Regions from separate parts of the Homo sapiens genome. Here regions 1 and 3 are each linked to region 2. The links are contacts of gene promoters, found by promoter capture Hi-C in blood cells and fetal thymus (Javierre and others, 2016). All regions are on one chromosome and are shown on one strand. The core of a region is centred on a gene start or on the middle of the fragment in contact, and the rest is flanking DNA. Distances in the headings are between cores, read along the strand shown.

The links. Contacts are between HindIII fragments. The CHiCAGO score rates a contact against its expected background, and 5 or more counts as called.
Region 1: a contact is called between a fragment that was not itself captured here and the fragment with the promoter of LINC01555 in region 2, in 3 of 17 cell types (erythroblasts, M0 macrophages and M2 macrophages). The highest score is 7.8, in erythroblasts.
Region 3: the fragment with the promoter of LPAR3 here is called in contact with the fragment with the promoter of LINC01555 in region 2 in 9 of 17 cell types (activated CD4 T cells, naive CD8 T cells, total CD8 T cells and 6 more); the score reaches 7.7 in activated CD4 T cells.

The regions. Positions count from the first base shown.
Region 1 is chr1:84,127,042-84,130,926 of GRCh38, forward strand. It overlaps a transcript of PRKACB not described here. Among named protein-coding and RNA genes, the nearest start is that of PRKACB, 15 kb to the right of the region's middle. The HindIII fragment of the contact is 3,373 bases long and covers 260-3,632 here.
Region 2 is chr1:84,632,474-84,636,343 of GRCh38, forward strand. LINC01555 (long intergenic non-protein coding RNA 1555) reads right to left here and starts at 2,547. Exons shown (of 3, transcript NR_027379.1): 1 at 2,459-2,547. It overlaps LOC124904206 (a long non-coding RNA gene), which reads left to right. Exons shown (of 5, transcript XR_007066196.1): 4 at 2,801-2,975. The HindIII fragment of the contact is 1,375 bases long and covers 2,079-3,453 here.
Region 3 is chr1:84,891,600-84,895,749 of GRCh38, forward strand. It overlaps LPAR3 (lysophosphatidic acid receptor 3), which reads right to left and starts at 1,607. Exons shown (of 3, transcript NM_012152.3): 1 at 1,417-1,607. The HindIII fragment of the contact is 2,976 bases long and covers 1-2,788 here.

The DNA.
Region 1 (3,885 bases), core at 696-3,195, 510 kb before region 2:
CTCTATCTGGGTCTTTAATTCCCAGCTTCATCTGCATGGCATACTCTTCTTCCATCTTTCTGTAAGTTCCTCTTTTCTTTGTACTTCAGGTCTTGACAGCTGTGTATGTTACCTGAAACACATTATAGAAAATGTACATTTGTACATGAGATGAAGATAAATAGGGAGGAAGACCAAAGAGTAGAATTATCTGCTAAGTTGAACAATTACAAAATAGTAATCTATCAAATAAAATCTTAAAATAGCTGTATGTAATTTAAGCTTATCATTAATAAGCATCCTAATTTTCCCCTGCTCCTTAAAATTACCTATACGACATTGAGCTAAAGCATTTCTTTGTTGGAAAGAAAAAAAATTGAAAACAAAAATGCTTGTGTATTCAGCTCTGCAGGAGGGATATTCAACTGTATCAGTATTAAAAATCTATCTTTCCAGAAAAGAAGTATGAAGTTAATTTACCTGCTGGTATTACTAATAGTTTAATTAGGTAAACAGCATGAGTTCAAAACAATTAATCATCTGCCATAAAAGTCTAATTATTCCTGGCACATTACTGAGCTATTTTTACTGTGTGAGATAAATATGAATTTTGCGGGTTTTTTTTCTTTTTCTTATATTTGATAGCTATAGACAATAAATTTAGTTCTTATTTTCTGTTGGACTCTGACTTTTGAAATGTTATTTTGCTAACACATTCAATTGACTATATTTACTGTTTTCCTAACTTGATTACTACTTTATTTTACTTCTAGTGAATATATTTTATGTTTTGAAGAAAATATAATATTTCCTATACTTAAATCATAAAATTATTTTAAGGATAAATATGTACTTAGTGGGAATTTTTTGTTTAAAGTAAGCCAATTTGCCAAATTTTACATTGTGTAAAAAATAAAGAGGCTTTGCTCAGGATTCCTCAGATTCCAGTCTATTCTTTGTTAGAATTATTTCTTTTCTTTTTTTTTCTTTTTTTTTTTTTTTTTTGAGACAGAGTTTCACTCTTGTCACCCAGGCTGGAGTGCAATGGTGTGATCTCGGCTCACTGCAACCTTCACCTCCCAGGTCCAAGCAATTCTCCTGCCTCAGCTTCCTGAGTAGCTGGAATTACAGGCGCCCACCACCACGCCCAGCTAATTTTTGTCTTTTTAGTGGAGACTGGGTTCCACCATGTTGGTTAGAATTATTTCTTTAATGTATGTACCTTAGCTGCAAAAAAGCAAAATTAAAAAAAAAAGATGTTTTAGCATACAAGATTTTTAGACAGTATAGGACACATAGAACTGACAGCTTTCATGTTGAAGAACAATATTGTCTTGATTTCACTGGAATTGTTCATTTGGGTCTATAGCATTCTGTCCAAATTGCAGAAATTGATTGTTATGGCATACCCACGATTTTCATGCTCATATGTTATAACAGAATAGTTTTTAAAAATCTTGTTTGAACAGTTTGGTTGTTTGCATGCTTCCAGTGTTTAGACTTTTAAAAAACGATTTGAAAAAATATGATATTGAAGTGTACTTTGATTTTCTTTAATTTAAATAAATAATAGTCATATATTTATTAATCAGATGTATTAATGTAATACAGTTTACAAAGAAATTTTATGTATATTCTCTTAGTTGAGCCATACACAAAACTAGTGATATAGTCAGGGAAGTTATTAATGATCTCGTTCAGCAGAAGAGGAAACCAAAGATTATAGAGGTAACTGATTAGTTTAAAAAGTGGCATATCTGTCAGCATTATGTGTGTTCCTATTGCCCAGTTTTGCCCATGTAATTTTCTGTGATTATGGAAATGTTTGATGTTGGCACTGTCTACACATGTAGCCATTTAGCTACATGTGGCTGTTGAGCACTTGAAATCATGGCTCATGTGACTGAGGAACTAAATTTTTAATTTTATTTAATTTTAATTTACGTAACCATGTGTCACTAGTGACTATAATATTGGACAGTGTACCCTAGACTCAAACATATGAATAAAAGCAATTTGAATTCCTGGAAGAAAAATTAGAGAATACTTACCTTTCAATGTACAGCATATGTTTTGAGCAATTGAATATTCTTACATTAGAATTGTGAGATTAAATAAATTTCCATATCTCTTTTTATGTTGAATAGTAAGATCATTGTTTTTGCATATTGTATTAACTTACTGCTTAATATTCAGCACAATTATAAACTTTTTTAGTTTACTATACTTTGAGATATATATTACTATTATAATTTTAGGTATTCTGGTGAGTTCAAGGATAAAAAACATGGAGTGTAATTGTGAAAATTTGTTTATGTATTTGAAAATATATCAGTTTGCCAAGAGTGAATCAATTTCATATTAATAATGACACCATACTTGATAGTAGTAATCATGAAATTTTGTATAAAAATTACATTTTTTAAAGAAATGTATGCATGTAACTTTTTGTCTCATAAAGTACTGTGACAAAAGTACTACAACTTTACTGTGGATTTACTCAGAAAAATGTATGTCAATTTCACACTGAGATTAAGGTGAAGCATGTTGAAAGTAAAACTTTTATCTTTTACATTTTTTATTTCTAAATCTATTATTAAATTATTAAAATCAGAAGTGATGAGATTAGCTTCTAGTTCCAATTAAGATGGAGTAAGTAAATGCACATCACTCTATTCCTCCCACTGATTATGCCTAAAAAAGATTCTGAACAGAATACATAAAGTAGCTGTAGAAAGACTTTGAAAAGTAAATATAGCAGGAAGATTGGAAAGGGAAATCAAAACTTGAAAAGAGACAAATACAGTAGTGAATTTCCTGCTTTTAGCAATTTCTTCCTACATCCTCCAGCTTAGACTCAAGGCAGTCAGAATTCCAGAACTGTACAGTGGATTCAGACAGAAAATGCTGTGGCTCACGCCTGTAATCCCAGCACTTTGGGAGGCCCAGGCAGGCAGATCACGAGGTCAGGAGATGGAGACCATCCTGGCTAACAGGGTGAAACCCCATCTCTACTAAAAATACAAACAATTAGCTGGGTGTGGTGGCGGGCACCTGTAGTCCCAGCTGCTGGGGAGGCTGATGGCATGAACCTGGGAGGCGGAGCTTGCAGTGAGCCAAGATCGTGCCATTGCACTCCAGCCTAGGCAACAGAGCGAGACTCCGTCTCAAAAAAAAAAAAAAAAAAAAAAAAAGAGAAACTCTCTTTCTCTAATGAGAGACCCTGTAAGGAAATCCCTGGTGACAAGGAAAAAAATCAATGAAATTCCATTTGTTTGTTTGTTTTCTGGTCCTGCTTTGAGACAAGATATACTCCTAAAACTGCACTCCTGTGTCAGTGGCAGTAGCAACAATGACCAAACAAGTACCTCAAATTATGAGAAAGAATGGAGACAACCCAGAAAAGAGTCAGTGAATTAGAACAGAAGATCAGGAGAAATTGTCTATTGTAAACAACAGGAAAACATTTGTTTAATAAAGGGAAAAGAGCCTTAAGAATCTGTAAAACAATATAAAAATGTCTAACCCTACAGGTCTTTGAAATCACAGTAGAAGAGGAAAGAGATTGCTGCAGAAATTTCTAAAAAAATTGAATATGTAATGGCTGAAAACTTCTCAAATTTCGCAACTGACATAAATTTACAGATTGAAGAAGCTTAGTGAATGCCAAGAAAACAACATCCAAAGATATAACCAAATTACTGGAAACCAAAGAGATAATTCATCAACAGCAATGCTGCTTTAAAAGAAATGCTAAGGAAAGTTATTTAAACAGAAAATAAGTGATACCAGAGAGAAACTTGGAACTTCATGAAGGAAAGGAAAGCAACAAAAATAATAAATATCTGGATAAATATAATAAATTGTTTTTTCTCCTCTTAAGTTCATTAAGATATGTATAATGGT
Region 2 (3,870 bases), core at 1,297-3,796:
GCAGTACAGACTCATCATTAGGAGTTTGCCAGGGGCCAGTTTTAGTTCTTCTCTTCCTAGGATAATTCACCCATTATCTAGAACTAACCTGATTAAAATAATGCTAGTGCCTCTGTCCATTTTCTTGATATTAATAATGGTAGGGATGAATAAACCTTCATGTCAATTAAATGTAGAAAACAGAAATGAATTCTTCCTGAGGTCCAGCTTAGTCATGTGTATGACAGTAAAAGATTTGCCTTCTAATAAGGGCAATATATTGAGTCCTACAATGTATCTCAACTCTGAAACTAATTTTCAATTAGGATATACTTCCCAATTTCCTGAAAAGCATGCATATGTCAGAAAGGTTCCCAGTATAAAAGTGTATTTTCCCAGATGGCTCATGATGGACCACATGCTCAGCTTGGAGAGAAAGAGGAAATTTACAAAAGCATAAAACGTGGTTCTGTTTTTCTCAGGGACCTTAGTTAAGGCAGAAAAATAAACTCATACAGCAACTGCAAATGAAAGAACTTCGTACCCACACACCCAAACACCAGGATTGGTGCATTAGTCTCCTAAGAGCCCTTCTTGCCCCCAGATCTGTTTCCCTTAGGTCATTCTCAGAACTGCCAAGTGAATTATTATTTAAAGTGTGAGTCATCTTTTTACTCCTCTGTATTACATCCTTCAGTGTTTCCAGGAAATGCCTTCAGGATAATGCCCAAGCTCCCCTTGAGGGATCAGATTCCAGACTATCTTGCTGGTCTGGTGTCTGGTCCCCTGCTTTGCCTTTTATGCTACCCAAAACCCCACTGTGAGTGGTGCCCTGGACATATCCCTCCTGGTTCACTCCTACTTATCCTTTAAGATACAGCTCAGGACACAAAACCATCCTCCCACTCTCATGAGGTACTGAGGAGTTCCCCTCTGCTGCACTCTCTCCAGGGAGATATCCACTCAAGATACAATCAATTACCTGGGTGTCTCCTTTTATACTGAGTTCATGAGGGCTCGGGACACAGCAGGTACTCAATAAATATTGGTTAAATTAACTTAGGAAATGCAGAGGAACCCTCCTTAAAGTTACTAATGACCACAATACTGCCAGCGTTTTTCTATATATTGTTTTCTTTATAACATTTGAACTTCCTTGGAATTCTCTCCTTCCTAAGGGTGGCTTTTTTTTTTTTTTTTTTGAGACAGGGTCTTGCTCTGTCACCCAGGCTGGAGTGCAGCGGTGCTATCACCACTGCACTGCAGCGTCAACCTGACCTCCTGGGCTCAAGTGATCCCCGCTTCAGCCTTCTGAGTAACTGGGACTACAAGCACACCACCATGCCTAGTTAATTTTTGTATTTTTTATAGAGGGAGGGTTTCACTATGTTGCCCAGGCTTGTCTCAAACTCCTGGGCTCAAGCAATCCACCTGCCTCCGCCTCCCAAAGTGCTGGGATTACAGACAAGAACCACCATGCCTGGCCTTGATATCTTCTTGATATTGACTCTCAACTCTCTGTCTCTTCACTCCATAAAAGAGCCTTTTCTTCCATATTTGCCTTTTCTTTTTTCTTTTTCTTTTCTCTTTTTTCTTTCTGAAGTAGAGACAGGGTCTCACTCTGTTGGCCAGGCTGGAGTGCAGTGGTGTGATCATAGCTCACTGCTGCCTTGAACTCCTGGGCTCAAGCAAACTTTCTGCCTCAGTTTCCCAAGTAGCTGGGACTATATGCATGTGCCACCATACCTGCACATTTGATTTTTGAATGCCAGTGATACCCAAGTCTCTACCTTCTGCTTCTCATTCTACCATCTGTCTCTTTTTTGTGACCTCATGTATGCCCCTAGCTTCAACAGCCACTTATGTATTGGCTCTCAGATCTCAATATCTATCCCAGACCTCTCTGTTGAGCTCCAAACTTATATATCCAATTGCCAACAGTAGGCATTCACATGGGTAGGCACTGCATACCTACCTGAGGAACCCTAATAAAAACCCAAGTTCATCCACACGAACTTGAATGGCTCAGAGACCCTTAAATTCAATATGTCCAGAACAATTCATTATCCCTGTGTCAGGGGTCCCTAAGATCACCCTTAAGCTTGATGAACTCACATGAACTAGAAAGACTCACAGGACTCAGAAAAGCTGTTATACTTATGGTCATGATTTATTACCGCAAAAGGTTACAGATTAAAATCAGCAAAGGGGCAGGCACCTGAGCAAAGTCTTGGAAAAAGCAAGCACAAACTTCCAGGTATCCTCTCCCAGTGGAGTCACAGCAATATGTGACAATACATGTGAAGTGTTGCCACAGAAGTTCACCCAAGACTTGGTGCTCAGGATTTTTATTGTTTTTATTGGGGGTCATCAGGTAGGTATGCAGTGCCTACCCAGGTGACTGATCTCAGCTACTCAGACTCCAGCCCACAGGCAAAAAAGGCATTCACCATAAATCACATTGTTAGGATAAACTTACCTAGTCACACCGGTACAGCATGGCCCGAGGCCTCAGGCATGCAAAATCACTCTTAGCAGGCAGAATGTGTAAGACTCAGAGGTCATTTTCCAGTCCTGAAGACAGACCTTTGCTGGGTTAACACACAGGCAACCCAGGTCTGCTGACTAGACTATTTCCTGCTCAATCCCCTAAAGCTGTTCTTCTGTAAGCCCTTTCATCCACCGCTATCTGAGCCAGAGATTGTTTTACTTAACACCGACATCCAATCAGAGTCTACCTGTAGGAACATGCATTCCTCTCAATCACTTCTTGCTTGGATTACTGCAACCTGGTATCATCTCCACTTTGCTTTCTTTTCAGCAGTTCTCCATATGGAATTAGAATTGTGATAAATGCTATGACAGAAGGATATGCAGTTAAAGCATTTGTAATAAATGCTTTAATAGAGGTATACTCACAATGCTATGACAAGGAGAGAGAGGGAACACTCTGGGTCACAGTTGTGCTTGACCAAGCACATCACTAAGCCTTCAGGGTAAGTTCAAAACTTCTTGAATCTGAGACCCTTTTAACCTGGCTCCTCTCTACCCCTCCCACTGTTCTCCCACACCACTTTGTTCTTACAAAGCTATTTGTAATTTCCCTGGAGGTCATTTGGTTTCATACCTCTGATCTTGTATGTTCTGTTCCCTCTTCAATACTTAACTCAAGCATCCTCTCTGACCTCCTATTCCGCAGGCTAAACATGCTTCTCCCCCTCTTCCCTGCCTCAGAGCCCTCCAAAACCTTTATTGGAGCACTTACTCAGGTGCCTTAAGTGGCCCATTGGCTTGTTTGCCGCAGTAGTTTGTTAGTTTCTGAGGGCAATGGCCAAGTCACCTTCCATGTTAGAATCCCAGCACCTAGCATAGCAATCCTAATAAGTACTCAATAAACATTTGCTGAATGAATAAAAGGGAGAAAGTTCAATTCTGAGAGCAGAGTTGTGACTGCCTCCCCACAGAGTCAGAAAAAGCTTTATAGATGTAAGAACCATTTAAGTTGATATTGAAGGAAAATAAAATTTCATCAATTTTTTATTTGCACATAACCAAAATTGTATTGAAAAACACCAAAATAGGAGATCACTGCTGCATACCTTACAAAATCAAACACACTTACTTATCTTGGTAGATGAACCAGAATTACTGAACTTATGATAAGCCTTTCTGGGACATAACAAATTCAGGATGTTGTGTGGATCATTAGTGTTGCTTTCTTTTAAATGAACACTCTTCTGTGAGCTTGGTGTTTCATCCTGTAGGCTGGCACAACACTGTTGAAGAACCTACACAAAGATCCACTGTCTGAGTGTAACTGCCAAATGGGTTCATTTTGCCCACTGCCTATATAGAACCAATTTATCAAGACAGAGGCACTGCAACACAGAA
Region 3 (4,150 bases), core at 357-2,856, 260 kb after region 2:
CCCATGGAAAGCAGGGTTAGCAACTGTTGATGGATCAATGGAAAATCCAGCAACTCTTCTCAGCGATACAAAAGTCCATGCATTAATGAAACGTTGTGCGGTACATGGAATTTGTAAAGAGGAGATTGATTGTCTGTCTGTAATTGACATTTACTTTATTCTCTGATACAGACTAAGTTGGAACCGTGAGAAAGCCCTTTATTTCTAAACGGCATCTCAAGACCAGGTAATGCTACTTTCGGAGGAAAAGGAGGAAGAAAAGCGTTGTAATGACAATAACAAATTACGGGGGAAACATTTCGTGGAAATTACTCAGTTTAAAAAACTGACCTAGCCGGGCGCAGTGGCTCACACCTGTAATCCCAGCACTTTGGGATGCTGAGGAGGGTGGATCACGAGGTCAAGCGTTCGAGATCAGCCTGGCCAACACAGTGGAACCCCGTCTCTACTAAAAATACAAAAAATTAGCCTAGCGTGGTGGTGGGCGCCTGCAATCCCAGCTACTAGGGAGGCTGAGGCAGGAGAATCGCTCGAACCTGGGAGGCGGAGGTTGCAGTGAGCCGAGATCGCGCCACTGCACTCCAGCCCGGATGATAGTGCGAGACTGTGTCTCAAAAATAAATAAATAAATAAATAAATAAATAAATAAATAAATAAATAAAAACTAACCTACAAATGCTTTTCAGGGCCATTTTAATGATTACCTTAATAAGACTAAATTGTTTCCAATATTCACAGTCACTCCTCAAATTACATGCGTGCGGAATTTCTAAGCAATTTTGTGTAGCTGCAACTTGTTGAGGGAAAGCAATAAAGTAACTCTGCTACAGAACAAAAGCACTTTTGTCTCGTGGTGGTGAGGGGGCATACCCTGAACAAACAACCCCGACAGTGTTGCTAGTTACTAGTTCCCGAATCTCTAGAAGCCTGCACATGGTTCAAGCTGTTCCCCAGCGGACACAGCACAGTACCAGATGTAACTGGAGGCTGAAAAATGTTATATCCCTAGGCTTCACGAGAGAACCCCAGTTTCCTAATCACCATCGATGGCAATGAGACTGAGTTTGGAAAGAACCACGTGTGCAAAGGCAGACGCAACCCGTGCGGCGCTCTCCTGGCCTCTGCGCCCAGCCCGCCAGCCCTCAGCAGCGGACGCAACGCCGATTTTGCATCTAGATTGCTTTTTGCTCCTAGCGGGGAAAAAGGTGGGAAAAGAGCAAGTTGTGCCATACACCCGCCGGGAGAGTCTTGTCCCGGGGTTTGGAGTGGGTCTGGAGCCCAGGCTTGCACGCCAGGCAACCCCGAAAAGCCGCAGGCTAGAGCCCTGCAGGCGCCGCTGCGCCCCGGCCTCCCCACGACGCACGCCCTGGTGACTGCGGCTCGGGGTACCCTCCCTGCGCCCGGACCCTCACTCACCGCTCACGTTCACCCGCGCCGCCGAGCCCGGGAGCGGGGGCCCCTGCGGCTGCCGCATGCCCTCGGGGTCGAGCGCGACGGGGCGACCGGGCGCCGGGCTCCAGCCGGGCGCGGAGAAGCAGCGGAGGACGCGGCGGGCGGGCGGAGCGCCTCCTCTCCAGCGACCCCTGCGACGCGTCCAGAGCCAAAGGAAAGTTTGGCGGTGCGAGGGAGGGACCTAGGGACAGCGGCCCCTCCCTGCCCCGCCCCGCCCCGCCGGGTGCGTTCGACGTTCCCACTGGAGAGCGTCCCCAACCTGCAAGGCCGCGAGCTGCGCTCAAAGGGGCCCGTGCGAGCCGCGGGAGGGCAGCGCTCTTGCAGACGCGTTCCTGCCTGGGATCGTCCCCAGGTGGGTGGTCGGCCGGCCCCGAGAGGGAAAAGCGCCCACTAAAGGACCGCTAGTACCCACAAGCCTCACGGAGCCATACCTCGGAGCTCCGTATTAGAACGCAGTCCCTCTGCCCCTCTGTCCTCAGAGATTTGTTTGAAGTGGCTGCGGGAAGTGCAGCCCACACCCACCACCCCCGTGGGAGGCAGGCTCTACTCCAAGCCCGACCTAACGCTGGAAACCTCAACCCCAAAGCTACCCGAGGGTGCGGACAGCCCCCAGAGGCAACCAACAATATTTAAGGTTCTTGTAAGAGGTTTCTTGGCCTCCTGGGGCAAATAGTCCTGGATACTTTGTTTTTCAAAGCTGAAATATAAAACCTCCACTGACCCACCTTTAGTAAAGAAGAAAGATGCAAAGTAAAACAAATGTCATGAAGGCATTGTTCTCTCTGAATTCTGCAAAGCAATAACGAAGTCACAGAAATGTTCAAAGTTGTGCTTTCCTGGTGACCTTACAAAAAGGAAATACTGTGAGGTGAAGTCCTTCCCACTCAGACTTCAGGCCCTTAGGAAGCAATGAGAGTTGTGTGCCCAGATGTCTTCCTGTGACCCTTTGCCATCCATCCATCCGTTCATTCATTCATCTTGCATTCACCATTAATACTGCGCCCTTCTGTGTGCCAGCTAGGAACCTCATCCTTGCAAACAACCTGTTAGATAATCTGTCCCCTACCATCAAAGAGATTCTGTTTTCTCTGCAGAGGATGTTTTAATAAGGTTACGTCCCTTACTCCGTGGGTCTTATCCTATAGACCATAATAGCCTAATGTGCCTCAAACCTCCCCGGGGCTACAGCTAAGTTTTCATCAGCATGTGAAAATTATTGTTTCATCTAAGTGTTCAGAAAATTATTGCGGTGTCTTGCAGTTGAACTGTGTAGAGAGAAGTACAACTTGCGAAGCTAGGGCTAAAGAAAGATCATGTGTTTACTTTTACAAGCAGAAGCTTTGCATATGATAAAAAAGCTCGGTGGCAAACATGGTGAAAACCCGTCTCTACTAAAAATACAAAAAGCCGGGCGTGGTGGCACGCACCTGTAATCCCAGCTACTCTGGAGGCTGAGGCAGGAGAATCGTTTGAACCTGGGAGGCGGAGGTTGCAGTGAGCCGAGATCGCGCCACTGCACTCCAGCCTGGGCGACAGAGCAAGACTCCGTCTCGGAGGGGCGGGGGTCGGAAAGAGCTCTCTCTGTCAAGGGAGAGAACAGCTCAGCTCAAACATCACGGTGCTGAAGGGCAACCTGGTAAACACAGAAATACTCAACCACCAGCATTTACTGAATACTTGACGCAACAAAGGTGTAGTATGTTGAGTAAGATGTTGCAGGCTAGACTGTAAACACCACTAAGAGCCTTCTTTTGCTGGGAAAATCTGTTCTGAATCCAAACAACTTACTAACAAAGGCACTTGGGAAACACATTATGTTGCATTATGTTGTACCTTGGGAACTTCCTGAACTCGAGGTAATTGCAAAGCAGAACAGGGATCCCACAGAGTTGAATCTGAATCCTTAAAAAAGGAGGAAAGTGAAGAGGGCATGGGGAGCTGTGTTGCAAAAGGAAAGAGACTTTCCAGATAGATGGTTTTTAACAGCTAGATGGGTCAGATGTGAGGGGAAGGCCAGAAGGTGTTACAGAGAAACAGATTCAGAGAGGAAAAGCAGTGATAAACAAACAAACAAACAAACACCTATGGGGAGAAGCAGGAAAAGAAAAGACGAGGCAAACGACAACTAAAAAGAAAGATGTGGCCCCCAATTCCTAGTTTTTAGAAGGTAGCCCAGGGATTATCCACCAGAACCTCCTACAAATCCTTGTTTGGCCTGTGGTGTCTCACTTCTCTACCGAAATGTTTTTATTAGCAAAGCCAAATTAAAATTAACATCAAAATGGCAAGGATGAAGGCTGAGGGTGTATTTTGTCTTAGAGATCACTGGCTGGAAAGTCATTCAAAACTTTCAACAAACATTTGCTAGTCAGCTTCATGTATACAAGTGTTGTGTTTTGTGTTCCTGGAAACACAAAGAGTTATAACGTTGTTTCTATAAGGAGGTAAAAGGGGCATTCCACAGTGCTTGATAGAATGAAATTGTGATGGCTGAAAGAACAATTGGGGGTGGATGTGGTGGCTCACGCCTGTAATCCCAGATATTTGGGAGGCCAAGGTTGGTGGACCACTTTAAGGCCAGGAGTTCAAGACTAGCCTGGCCAACATGGTAAAATCCCATCTCTACAAAAAATACAAAAAATTAGCCAGGCATGGTGGTGTGCACCTGTAATCCCAACTACTTAGAAGGCTGAGGCCA